2 separate regions of the Homo sapiens genome follow, and region 2 is linked to region 1. The links are contacts of gene promoters, found by promoter capture Hi-C in human tissues and cell types (Jung and others, 2019). All regions are on one chromosome and are shown on one strand. Each heading gives the region's core, a stretch centred on a gene start or on the middle of the fragment in contact. The rest is flanking DNA. Distances are from core to core; before and after follow the strand shown.

Region 1 (6,878 bases), core at 2,903-5,402:
AGGAATGAAATTCTGATGTATGATACAACATGGATGAAATTAGAAAACATCAAGCTAAGTGAAATAAGCCAGACACAAAAGGGCAAATATTATATTATTCCATATATGAGTTACCAAGAATAGTCAAATTCATAAAGAGAGAAAGCAGAACAATGGTTACCAGGGCCAGAGGCAAGGGCTAATGGGGAGCTGTTTCATGAGTACACATTTTCTCTTTGGGTGATAAAAAAGTTCTGAGGATGATAGGGGTGATAGTTGCAAAATGTAAATGCAGTTAATGCCACTGAAATACAGTGGTAGGTAAAGTTGAAGCTTAGAAGTGGACAGAAACAGCTTAAAGGTTCAGATTTGAAAGTTTAATTTTACCACTTGTGCTACTTTTATTTTCTTCTGCACTCATTTGGTACACAGTAGACCATTTCCCCTCCCATGTGTTGGAAAGGAGAAAAAAGGAAACATTGGAAAATTAAGCATACTGTAAAGACTCAGATCTCTCCCCTGCATGCTTGCAACCTTTAAATCTAAAACTCACTTAACTCATGGATTAGTTAGCACAATCTCAGACTCTGGAGCCAACCTATCCCTAAAAAAAGAAAAACCTAACGGACTGTATGTAGGCTGCAGGCAAAAAAAAAGTCACTATAAGCAAGAAACTTCTTTCAGATTAGATAAATCGTACATAAATGTATAGACAAAAGACAACTGTTTCAGTTATCTATTCACTGGAAGAGATGTGTAACAAACAACCCTAAACTCACTGAAGTAAAACGACAATCATTACCCTCATGAATTCTTCAGGTCAGGACTTAGGACAAGGCAGAGCAGGCATTGTATGTCTCTGGCCATGATGAGGGCCTCGGCTGGGATGACCCAAATGGCTGAGCGGCGAGAATGGCTAGGAGCTGGAATCAGCTTCTCAGCTCACGTGACTGGCACCTAGGCTGGGCTGACTCAAAGCCTGGGCTCAGCTGTGACTGTTGATCAGTATTACCTTCAAAGGGTCTCTCTGTCTGTCTTGGGCTTTCTCACAAAATGCCAGCCTCAGGCAGTGGAACTTCTCACAGGAAGGCTGGGAGTTCCAAAAGGTAAATGTTCCAGCAGACAAGGTGGTACTGCATGGTCTTTTATGACCTAGCCTCAGAAGTCACATATGGTGACTGTGACCATTTTCACCAACTTCTATTGGTTAAAATCAATCACAAGCCCACATACATGTAAAGAGAGGGAACACAGACTCTATTTTGTTATCAGATGAGTATCAAAGAAGTTGCAGCCAGGTTTTAAAACTACCATGGACATATTTATAGAGAAATGGAGATACATGGCAAAGGGTTAACAGTGTCCATCCCCCAGGATCCCTCAAAGTGCATTTAATCTATTATCTTAATTCAGATTAATCCAAACTTATCCTTCAATAATAGCAAATTCCACCTATTTGCATGTGATGCAGCAGTAACAAACTTCAATTAACCTCTATAACTTGCATCAAAATTGACTAATAGCTTGTTTTTGACCCTAGCACCATCTGCCAATTTTAACCATTTCTTATTTTTCAAACACCATCAAGCTCAGATCCACCTTCAGGCTTAGGCTCTCATATCCAGAAAGAATGCAGAGAATGCCTATAGCAAGCAAAGCAAGTAGATTAGGATCACATCAGCATTATGGCCTATTCCCTATCCTTACTAGACTTTAGGATCTTACAGGTCAAGAGAAAAAAATGAAACAAATGGTAGGCAAATAAAGCTATCAACTTTTTATTCTCCAAAGTAAAAATATCTGAAGAACAACTACTATCTATTATCATATTAAAAAATAGGATAGACAATTTCAAAATAAAACATGGTCCTTAAGAGTGAAGAAATTTAACTAAATGAAAAATTCATATATCTCATCTGAAATGCTTTGGACCAGAAGTGTTCTGGATTTCAGATTTTTTCAGATTGGGGAACATTTGCATTATACATACCAGTTGAGCATCTCAAATCTGAAAATCCAAAATCTGAAGTGTTTCAAGGAGCATTTCCTTTGAGCATCATATAAGTACTCAAAAAGTTTTGGATTTGGGAGCATTCTGAATTTCAGATTTTCAGATTTGGCATACTCAATCTGTAATTTTGTTTTTAATTTCTCTGCTGAGCTGAAGAAATTTCACCATAGAAGAATTCCAGTTCGCAAACTGGTATGTGAAATCATTTGTGCATCTGTCTCATCTCTTCTCTCTTTTGCTTTTTTCTAATGGATTTAGATTTTTGCTTTAGGAATTCAAAATCTAAACAAGACAAATAAGTAAATGAGTATAATACCATATAAATGCTGTAAGAATACATGGGGAAACAAAAATAAAGGAAGGTCTCACAAATTAGGCAAAAAAAGTTTGCCCATGAGAAAGAATGGGAAAGATTATAGGCAGCAAAAACGCTGTAGCTGAAAGCACAGAGACAATCTACGCATACGGCATATCCAAGATAGCCTCTACTGTGTACCAAACAAGTAAAGAGTAGTTATACTTGGCCGTAGAGTAAAATTAACTTTCTCTTCATTATTCTTCTTTTTTATGAACTTTAACAACAGAGCAAGCATTAATTTAATGATCAGGAATTTTTTTTAATTAATTTTATTTATTTATTTATTTATTTATTTTTTGAGACAGAGTCTCGCTCTGTCGCCCAGGCTGGAGTGCAGTGGCTTGATCTCGGCTCACTGCAAGCTCCGCCTCCCGGGTTCACGCCATTCTCCTGCCTCAGCCTCCTGAGTACCTGGGACTACAGGCTCCCGCCACCACAACTGGCTAATTTTTTGTATTTTTGGTAGAGACGGAGTTTCACTGTGTTAGCCAGGATAGTCTCGATTTCCTGACCTCATGATCCGCCCACCTCCGCCTCCCAAACTGCTGGGATTACAGGCATGAGCCCCTGCACCCAGCCTTAATTTCCATTTTTAAAGTAAGCTTAGGAAGAACAAACATAAGGCCTATTTTTCCGGTAGAAAGTAGTTTGGGTCAGGTTGTAAAATACAAATGTTAACAACTGAGAAGTAGGCAGTGAAGTCAAGTCCAAACAGACGATACCAAAAAAGGGGCTCATAATATTCCTTAGGTGTCTCTGTGAGACTCCTGGGCTAGGTGTACTCAATGTTACAAGCCTCCTTATCCGTATGGTCATTAGGCGGAAATTCCCCAGGTGGCAGGTACTAGCAGGTCAAATGCTTAAATATAATGCCCTTTGGAGTCACAAAGACCAAGGTTGCTATCTCCACACTACCACTTAACTAGCTCAGTGAGCCTGGGCAAATTTATCAGCCACTTGACTTTTTTATCTGTAAAGTGGAAAAATGCCTACCTCTCAAAATTTTTGTGCAGAACAACTTACATAATGTAGGTAATGAACTTAGTACAGTGCCTGTCCCCCTGAAAATTACAATTACAATATAAAACGCATTTGTATATGTAATTGAGTAGTAGATATTTGTTTACTCTATTGGTTTAGCTAAAGGCTTTAAGCATATGAAACTCCTTTGTCAGATGGAATGTCAACTTTTTAAAACTTAAATGAGTGCAAATTTTTAACACAAGTTCCAAATGTAGAAGGGACATTCCCTATTTGCGGTTAATTCTAAAATGAAGCTACCTTTAGAATGATCCTTCTGTAGGATCCAGAAATAACCAAGCGGCCTAGCCCCTAGATTCTAGCAACTGACAGAAAACTAGGTGGAGGTTTCCCATTCTTCCTTGTCTTCTTACTCCAGCGGGCTTCTGTATCCACTCTAGATTGAATAGGGGATGTTTTGTGTAGAGATGGGCCTTCTCTCTTCCAGTCCAACTCTGAAGTAACCGCCCCTTACCCAAGCTTTCTTTAAACTGGAATAACGCCAGCAGAAGAATGTAGTAGGTGTGCTTCAAGTGTCCTCAAATAATTCCCGCAGCTTCCAGAATCCTTGCAATAGCCCGCTGGACCATCTGCGGCAATTCCACCCACTTCCACGCACCTGCTCTTCTTTCTAACCCCAGTACGCAATCCTGCAGCCCCGCCCCCACAGCTGACCAATCAGAGGGCGCAAAGTGAGTCGGATGGGGCGGGCCCAGTTTGGCGCTGACGACGAATCACCTGCCTCAGACAGCAGGGGCGGAAGCGGAAAAGAGCTGAAAGTCTTGGTTTGGCCTTGGGTTCCGCTGTAGGGGAGGTCCCGTGCGAAAGAATGAGGAGATCCTGGGGCCTTACCTACTAGCGGAATCGACTGAAGAGACGCCTGCCAGTGCGGGAGGTAGGAAGCTCGATCCCCAAAGAAAAGAGCGAGTGGGCAGGCAGCTGCGAGACAGAACCGGAGTGTGCAGGGTCCCTAGAGGCCGGTTCCTGGTCTGTGCTGCTCTCCTGGAAGCCATGGTACAGGCAGAGCTCAGGGCGATCCCCAGGTGAGGGCAGCGGCTCTGCCTGGGATTCCACCGCAGTACAACCGGGTAGATGCGGGGTGGAGAAGAAAGGATGTTGCCTGCACTGCTCGCCAATAGCACCCTGAGAGGCTACATTTGCAGAAGCAGCAGCAGCAGAAGACACAGCGCCGGTCCAGGAGGCGGCTCGAGCTGTTCGTAAAGTCGCCCGACAGCTTTTTCTCCGTAGTATGCGAGTTGACAAAACAGCCAGAGAACAGGGCTCCCCATTACAATCTTTTCGAGATCTTTTCCCTTGCTAACCGGATCTGATTTGTGCGAAAACATGCCTTGCACTTGTACCTGGAGGAACTGGAGACAGTGGATTCGACCTTTAGTAGCGGTCATCTACCTGGTGTCAATAGTGGTTGCGGTTCCCCTATGCGTGTGGGAATTACAGAAACTGGAGGTAAGAGGGTTCTGCACCATCAGCCTGTACACTTTCTTCTACCCATCTATGGTTGGGAAAGAGACACCCTTACCCCATTTCTGCCCTGACAGTCCTGAAAACCATCTAATGTAAACGAGCCTACTCTTAGGATATAAACCTGTCTAATTTCTTGTTCACGGTTCTTCAAGTCATGCTACAGGTGGAGGTGGGACCGGGTCGAGAAAATAGAATATATTAATATAGCTGCTTAGAAGGGCACTGTTTTGCAAGTATTCATCAGTTCCCTGAAAGTAAGGTAATTTTATTGCTGAAATCTGATCTGTTCAGACATTGGACGAAACTAGGTCAAATAAACTACCTTGAAAACCATGTATTGAATTTTATTAGCTTTTAACTAGCTTCTTGAATCAAAGCGTTCTAGTTGTTTTAACTTTGGTGTCTGTTTTTACTGTGGAAATTAGCTCTTACCCAACAAAGGTTTTGCAAAAAGTCCCTTATATATATTTTTTGATGTCATATGCTTATTGTGACATCAGTAATGTACTACAAGCTGGAAAACCCCAAGGTAAATAACTCAGATATAAATATTATATAATGAACTTTAAATTCGGAGTTAATAAAACCCACCAAGTACTTTTACAGAGGAACACCTATTACAAGAACTATAATAAGACCATGACTATTTTAGGCCCTTCTTTATTGTGGAAATGATTTTTACATAAACTGTATTTAATATACATTTGTGTTCTCTATTTACACTAAATTATTTTCTGATGACTTTCCCATACTAGCATAGTCCATATAGTTTTTTGTTTGTTTGTTTATGAGACGGAGTTTTGCTCCTGTTGCCCAGGCTGGAGTGCAATGGCGAGATCTCGGCTCACCGCAACCTCCGCCTCCTGGGTTCAAGCGATTCTCCTGCCTCAGCCTCCCGAGTAGCTGAGATTACAGGCATGCGCCATCACGCCCGGCTAATTTTGTATTTTTAGTAGCGACGGGGTTTCTCCATGTTGGTCGGGCTGGTCTCAAACTCCTGACCTCAGGTGATCTGTCCTCGGCCTCCCAGAGTGCTGGGATTACAGGTGTGAGCCACCGCACCCAGCCCCATATACTTACTTGTTGTTGTTGTTGTTTATTTTTATTTATTTATTTTTGAGAAAGAGTCTAGCTCTGTCGCCCTGGCTGGAGTGCAGTGGCGCGATCTTGGCTCACTGCAACCTCTGCCTCCCAGGTTCAAGCGATTCTCCTGCCTCAGCCTCCCAAGTAGCTGGGATTACAGGTGCCCACCACCACACCCAACTAATTTTTGTATTTTTAGTACAGACGGGGTTTCACGGTGTTGGCCAGGCTGGTCTCAACTCCTGACCTTGTGATCCACCCACCTCGGCTTCCCAAAGTGCTGGGATTACAAGCATGAGCCACCGCACCCGGCCCATATAGTTATTTTTAATGGCCATGTAATATTCTGCTACATTCAATATTTCCCATTTGTTAGATATTTAGGTTCTTTCCACAATTTGTCTACAAAAACTTAGGTATAAGCATCTTAATACAAATGGGATTTTCTTACTTTGAAATATTTCCGTGGAGTATAGTATAGGAACCACTTTAAAGGTTAATAATATGCATAATATCAGTCCAGTTTAAGACTTCTCTTAGTTGTTAGTTTCAAATGTAGTTTTTAGGTACCACTAGCTTTTAAGAAAAATTGGAATCTGTAGTCTGTACTTGTCCTAGCCAAGTTCCCAACATGTCTTGCTTGGACTCTTCTCAACACACCAGCCAGAGTAACCAGTTAAAACTTGGCACATTATGTGTGTCATCTTAAATCACTTCTAGTCCTAGAGTAAAGGCCAGTATTCCTCACTGTGGCCATCAAGGTCCAACATGATCTGACACCACTCCCACCTGATCCCCCTCTGACTTTTTCTCCTCAAGTCCTAGGCTTCCACTGCACGGCTTTGCTCAAAAATCCCAGGCATGCTCCCTCCTTGAAACTTTGCACGATGTTTCCCCTTCACAGAATTTCCTTTCCGTAGATATTATTCTCATTCCTTTATG
Region 2 (6,878 bases), core at 2,452-4,951, 1.0 Mb after region 1:
GTGTCATCAGATGTCATTCTGCTTTTTCTTAAAATGTCTAGGTAATGTTGATTATGTTTTGAATTATTCTGACCTTCTTCGATCTCTTGCATTGTATTATTCCTAAGGCCATTATATTCTATTTTAACATTCTCTTGCTGTATTATACATACAATAAAAGGCACAATTAAGTGTATAGCTCACTTACTATAATGAATTTTCATGAAGTGAACATACCCTTGGAACCAGCAGTGGTCAACAATAGAAAACTACCAATACCCCGAAGCCCACCATGCTCACTTCCAATCACTAACCACCTACCTAAAGGTAAACACTATTTTGACTTCTGACAACACACACTAGTTTTATTGAGGGCTTAATAATTTGGATCGTCAGAATTTTGTTTCTGGACAGGCATGTTGATTTTCACCTTGCTTTTCCCCATGTCCTACCCTTAGGTAGGACACTGCCCAAGGAAGCTCCACTTAAATGGAACTTCTCTAAGAGTGCAAGTGTGCTATGGGCCACCAAGATGCAGGTAGAAGCATGGAGCATGGGTGGCAGTGGGGATGTGGAACTCACAGGGCAAGGCTGAAAGAAGGACCTAGAAACAGTGAGGTTCTTGGTAGGGCCCAAAGAAAAACTTCCCTGTCTTCACGCTTTTGCTTAGGGAAAGCCCTGGGAGCAGAGTTCTCATTTCTTTTTGCAACTTTCCTCTTGAGACCTCTGTGGTTCTTATTGTTAACTTTACCATTAGTGCTTGTTGGAAAAGATTGAGTGTTGCTTTTATTACAAAATATCTTGGTGAGTATTAAAGACATACATACTGAGATTTATAAGATCATTGTGCTCATATGAGTATTTTATTTTAGTGCATTTCCAGGGAATGTCTTTTTCAGGGCTGGACAGGGCCTATATTTTCAATTCACCAACAGATCATTAGTCACTAAAAGAGGTATAAAGATCAGTCAAAGCAGAGTATTGCATCCTTAATGAGAGAGTGAAGGGTGAGTAGAAATTGATGTCTTCAGGTGTAGATTCTTGTCAACTAGTAAAAAATGCTGAGAAAAGACATCAAGTAACTTACAGGATCACCCACCAGCTCTGACTTGCTAAGGGCTAAAGTAATCCTGGTGATTATTTTTTTCTTCTATCTTGAAGGAATATCAGTCTAGAAGACTCCTTAGTAAACATAAGAATCATCAGAAGTACTGACTTACTCAGCTTAAGCAAAGACTGACAGCAGCACCATTGCTCTTCATCCCCAGCATGGTTCTTGGAAGATCCAATTTATAGAAGATACATACTCAAGGAAATTCCTCAGTAGCCCCAAATGCTTTCTTTCCTTTTTATTTGAGACTGGGACCACTCATCCAAACGTAATAATGGTCTCAGGGTCAGAACATATGGCTTGTTAAGGTATCTTAAGGGAGCTATTATGTCTTCTGTCTGTTCTACTTTTATATGGTCCCTGATCTTTCCAGCAGAGCTAGGTCTTGGATTGGAGCAATGGGATGGAGAACTGTGCAAGGCTGGAGACTCACCACTCTGTTCCTGCATGCATGGGAAAAAATGGCCACCTCTGCCAGCTGGAAGTGGCTTTAGATGTCCTGTGAAGTTTTGGTAGTCTCTAGGCTGGAAATAAAAGAACTTTAAGATATTAGGTCTCAGAGTTTTCTTTTAGATCCATTCTGAACTCTTGGAATCACACTGGAATTCCCATAAAAAGAATGTTATGAGTGAAGTACGTCCACATTTACAGCTTATTTTACATCATACTTTCTTTTCTTGAACCTCAGTTCTCTTTGCTTTTTCAATTTTGATTCCTCTATGTATTTTTTTTTCTATTTTGGCTCCTACTCAAATTTTTCTAACTCTTATGCCCAATAGTTTTCTTTTGATTTCTGGTCTGATTATGTTCATCTGGTATTTAATTTAGCTCCCACTTTGTGAAGTTTGATCTACCAAGGCTACACTTTACTTGGCAAATCCTGGTTTCTATACCCAATTTACTCCTAAGAGGGATAGCTGAAGCCATGGTTTATCTCTGGGCTCTTTCTCTTCCTCCTCCACCCCTCCTTGCATCTTTCTTTTTCCATCTGTGCCAATTTATTAAATTATAATGAGAAATACAAATGTCAAGTTTACTGCAGGGTTTATTTTGTTAGACTTTTTTTTTCCTCCAGAGAAAAGAAAATTTGCTTAGTGAACACAGACTCAGACACAGAGTAGTCAATTATTATTGGATTGTTTCATGGCAGGAAACTAAATAATCCATGCATCTTTGAAGCAGGAAAGTGCTTTCCACCCAGATAATATGCTGGTACGTGGGAATCTCTCTGCCATCTTGGATGGTACTGGTGTTACATGTGTTCTGTGCAGCTTGGGGTACCTCCTTTTCCAGACACAAGGCAGTTTGTATGGCTAAAACTTTGGCTTTTCTCAAAGTTTTGCTTTTTGTCAAACTTTGGTTTTTCTCAAAATCTTTTTTTCTCTGCTTTCCTTTTCTGTTTCTTAAATGATGCATCTTTGTACTTCTCTCTTTTTCCCTCATCTTCCTGTCTCTTGCTGTTCCCCTGGACTCTCTCTTACTGCACTCCAGATGTCTTGCTGTGTACTCCTGATGTTGTACCTTCACCTCTGTCCTCTGCTGCTATTTTCCTCTAGTGGAGGGACTCTTCATTTGACACCAGAAACCAAATCATTGGTGAATATCGACAGATATACTGCAGGATCTATGTTTCTTTAGCATGTCCTGCAAATAGGACCAAGGTACATCAAAGTCTTTTGGATAGCCTCAGCTAATTGCCAGCCACGGTAGTGACCCATAAAAAATACCACATTGAAGCTCTTAATGCATTATTATTTACAGTTTGGGCTATATAATAACATTTAGCTTTAAAAAACTTAACTGTATATCTCACCAGGTGTGGGGTGGAATGAGGGAGGAAGGGACATCTTATGATCTCTATTTAATTTATCTCTCTCAAATTTGCTCTCATCAGCATTTTCCTGTTTTTCTTAGTAAATGAATAAGTAAGTAAGTGGGGAGATCTCAAACATGATAGGAAAATGACTCAAGAAGAATTAAAGATGGATAATCGTATCACTCTCTTTTGATTTCAGATGTCCAAATTCCATGTTTGTTAATTAAAATGAAGGTTATATAAATGAAGAGAAACTAGAATGAAAAATTGGCACAGTAGAGTATTTTTTAAAGAAAACCTTTGTTTGCATTTTTAACAATGTGAATTAACTCCAATTAGCTGTTTACACCATCTTGCCAAGTAGAACTCCTACCACAACTGTTTCAATGAACAACATAGAGTCGTTCGTAAGTAGTCATTTTTCCCCAAAGGGTATTGTGAAAGTGTGCGTTTGTTGGTTGATCATTTCTTTTGCAAGTGACCTTGCTGATTTACTTGAATTCTTGATACTCAAAGCATGTTTTAGACCAGTAGCAGAAGTATCTCAATTAAAGTTGGCAGAAATGCTGAATCTTGGGGCCCACTGCAGAGCTACTGAGTCAGAATCTGAATTTTAATGAGATCTTCTGGTGATTCCTGTGAACATTGAAGTTTGGGAAACATTGACCTAGAAGATCATTTCCCCCAAATTACAACAAAGGTAAACTTTAGTGTATGCCTCATGAATCTTTCTGAAATTCTGAATTAGTGGAGTCAAAATTAATCAAATTGTATTAAATTTTTTTCCCATTTACATATTACATTTCACTAAGTTTATTTCACTCAAATTTTTATCTACTATCTTTTTTTCATAGACTCGAGTTATCCCTTTTAGAGGAAAACATCTATTAAAAGTTGAAATCATACCCAAATCCTCTGTCATTCTATTTAGCAAAGCTGAGCTGTATCCATAAGATTCTACTTGAGAGAGATTTTGACATCTTGGCACTTCCTTTTCTCCAGAGTATTGTATTCTTTCTTTTAATTGGGTAATTTCCTCTAGCCCTCAGTAGACACTTATGTGTCATGTTTTTATTTCCTGAATTAAGAACTTCCAACAGACTTACAGAAGTATCCAGATATATGTTCAGTTGACAATATTTGGAACCTCTGTGATGAGGTAGAAATTTCTTATATATTATGTAAAACACATTCAAAGACGAGTTTCAGCTTTTCAGTCAAATAGGTGTGAATTAATAGAACAGCAGGACAAAATCCTGTTGCTTTTCATGGTATATAGCTTACATTTCTTGTATTCACTTTGTCTTTTATCTTTGTGCTCTAAATAATAGCTTTAAGTAGTTTAAACACATACAAGCCCAAAAATGTAAGGCAAAATAAAAACAGCACAAGTCAAATTTATCTGATATATCTTTAAGAGGACAATTTATTCATCAGTCTGTGAATCCATATTATTTATTTATGTATTTATGTATTTATTTATTTATTTATTTATTTATTTATTTATTTATTTATTTTTGAGACAGGGCCTCTGTGGCCCAGGCTGGAGTGCAGTAGTGTGAACATGGCTTACTACAGCCTCAGCCTTCTGGGCTCAAGCAATCTTTCTGCCTCAGCCTCCCATGTAGCTAGGACTACAGGCATGCACCAACATGCCTGGCTATGTTTTTGATTATTTGTTGAGATGGGGTCTCACTTTGTTGCCCAGGATGTTCTCTAACTCCTGGCCTCAAGTGATCCTCCTGCCTCGGCCTCTCAAAGTGCTGGGATTACAGGCATGAGCCACTGTGCCTGGCCTATGTCATATATTCTCTTTAAATTTACATAATATTGAAGCTATCTGGATGGCATCCTAAATCTTACATATTTATAAATACTGAAGTTCAGGATTGACACCTTATAAAAAGCCTTTTTGGAAATTAATTTTTTTGCAGATGAATCTTCATTTATCATAAAACTAGCATGTAAGCTCTCTGATAGCAGACACTTTTTTTTTTTTTTTGAGATGGAGTCTCGCTCTGTCGCCCACCCTGGAGTGCAGTGGTGCGATCTTGGCTCACTGCAACCTCCATCTCCCAGGTTCAAGTGATCCTCCCACCTCAGCCTCCCGGGTAGCTGGGATTACAGGTGTGTGCCACCATCCCTGGCTAAGTTTTGTATTTTTAGTAGAGATGGGGTTTCACCATGTTGGCCAGGCTGGTCTCGAACTCCTGACTTCAGGTGATCCACCCTCCTCGGCCTCCCATAGTGCTGGGATTATAGGCATGAGCCACCATGCCCGGCTGGCAGACACTTTTTATCTGTTTTGCTCACTGTTGTATCTTCCAGCACCCAGGTCAGTACCCTGCACATGGTATGGATCAATACTTGCTGACTGAATGAATAGATGAATGAGCTTAAAAATGTAAAATCTCTTCAGAATTAAACAGTTGGGATTTATTCTTTATCAGTAGGATTTTGCTAAAAGTGTCTTTGAGTAATAGATTCTCCCTGGAAACAAGGTCTATTTATAATCTTATCTAAACAACTAAATAATAGAAGGCAAGAATAATTGAAATTCTTGAATAGAAATGACCTCAACAATATGCCTAGTTTACCTGTGGCTCATTTATTACGTGGCTTTGACCTGTGATGGTATCACAGTGAAGTGTTTTTTTCTTAAAGAGATCTCCTCTTCTCACTCTTTGATAGGGACCCACCACATTGACTTCTGGTAACAAAGCTGTCACTCAGAGGAATTTTCTTTCTGCCCCCCATCTGTCCTGGCCCTGAAAAGAAGCCTATTTCCCCTCTTAATCTTAACTCTGGTGCCCTTCTCTCTACATTGTTGGCTGGTGCCATGCCTGTCACTAAATTTATCTGATAGGCTCATGATCCTGAACTTCTTCCCTCCCTTTTTCCTATGAGAGCACATAGTCTGTGTTGATTGTGGGTTGTGTAGACAGGCAGATAGGAAACAACAGAACGCTATTTTCCCTTTGGGTGAAGCTTGAGGTCAGGCTCATTCCTGTTTTCTACTATTTCCTCTGTGTGTTTCCCCCAAAACTTGGCCTTCCCATACCTCTGCTGAGTTCTATAGCCTTTAAAAATTAATACAGATTATTTTAGAAATCTATGTTATAATCTTAAAAGCAAAATGTAACTCTGTTTTTTTTCTCTACTGTACTACTAAGTCACAGTTTTCTGGGCATATGATGAGCAACTGCACATTTTTTTTGTGGACTGACCTAAGAACGTTACCACCATGTCTAACTTAATTCCCACAGACAAATACATTATATTCAATTAGCATGATTTGCTAATGAACTTCCATAAGTTCATAAGGTAAGAACTGTAATATATAGAAAAGCATGCTTATAATCCCAAATCATGGAAGTTATGGAGTGGATTTGAGTGAAATATAATCATTCCTTAAGCTATTTTAAAAGTAATCACTCATCTGACCATTAGTAAAGACAAACTATATGGAGCCTTTAATGTAAGTGCTACATTCACAAAGTGGATATGTGGAACAAAAATAGTAGGGTGGCAAGCAGTTGTGGACTTTGTAGTCGGAAGTCCAATTCAGCTGCTTATAAGTTATTACACTCCATCATCAACACAGACTATATTGTCCCATAGGAAAAAGGGAGGGAAGAAGTTGGGAATCATGAGCCTATCAGATAAATTTAGTGACAGGCATGGCGCCAGCCAACGATGTAGAGAGAAGGGCACCAGAGTTAAGATTAAGAGGGGAAATAGGCTTCTTCTCAGGGCTAGGAAGGTGACAGATGGGAGACAGAAAGATATGAACAGGTTATTCTGCCTCTTGGTGTCTCAGTTTTCTCATCTGCAATAAGAGACATAATAATATAATCTACTTTATAGAATTGTTGTAAGAATTAATTAAAATAGTTTATGTAAAATGTAAGCATAGATTACATGATATTCAGGGCTTAATGCATGCTTACATTGATGCTTACATGCATTAAG

Evidence for each region. Contacts are between HindIII fragments. The study calls those that stand out against the background at their distance.
Region 2: a fragment that was not itself captured here is called in contact with the fragment with the promoter of TMEM184C in region 1 in 1 of the 25 tissues and cell types used here (heart right ventricle).

Annotation. Positions count from the first base shown.
Region 1 is chr4:147,613,245-147,620,122 of GRCh38, forward strand. It overlaps TMEM184C (transmembrane protein 184C), which reads left to right and starts at 4,153. Exons shown (of 10, transcript NM_018241.3): 1 at 4,153-4,835. The coding sequence starts at 4,713. TMEM184C-DT (TMEM184C divergent transcript) reads right to left here and starts at 4,001. Exons shown (of 2, transcript NR_186679.1): 1 at 3,844-4,001. RefSeq lists enhancers at 4,373-4,492, 4,523-4,572. The HindIII fragment of the contact is 7,307 bases long and covers 3,400-6,878 here.
Region 2 is chr4:148,640,128-148,647,005 of GRCh38, forward strand. The region is part of intron 2 of LOC107986195 (a long non-coding RNA gene); the gene reads left to right. The region is part of intron 1 of LOC105377483 (a long non-coding RNA gene); the gene reads right to left. Among named protein-coding and RNA genes, the nearest start is that of NR3C2, 200 kb to the left of the region's middle. The HindIII fragment of the contact is 6,484 bases long and covers 460-6,878 here.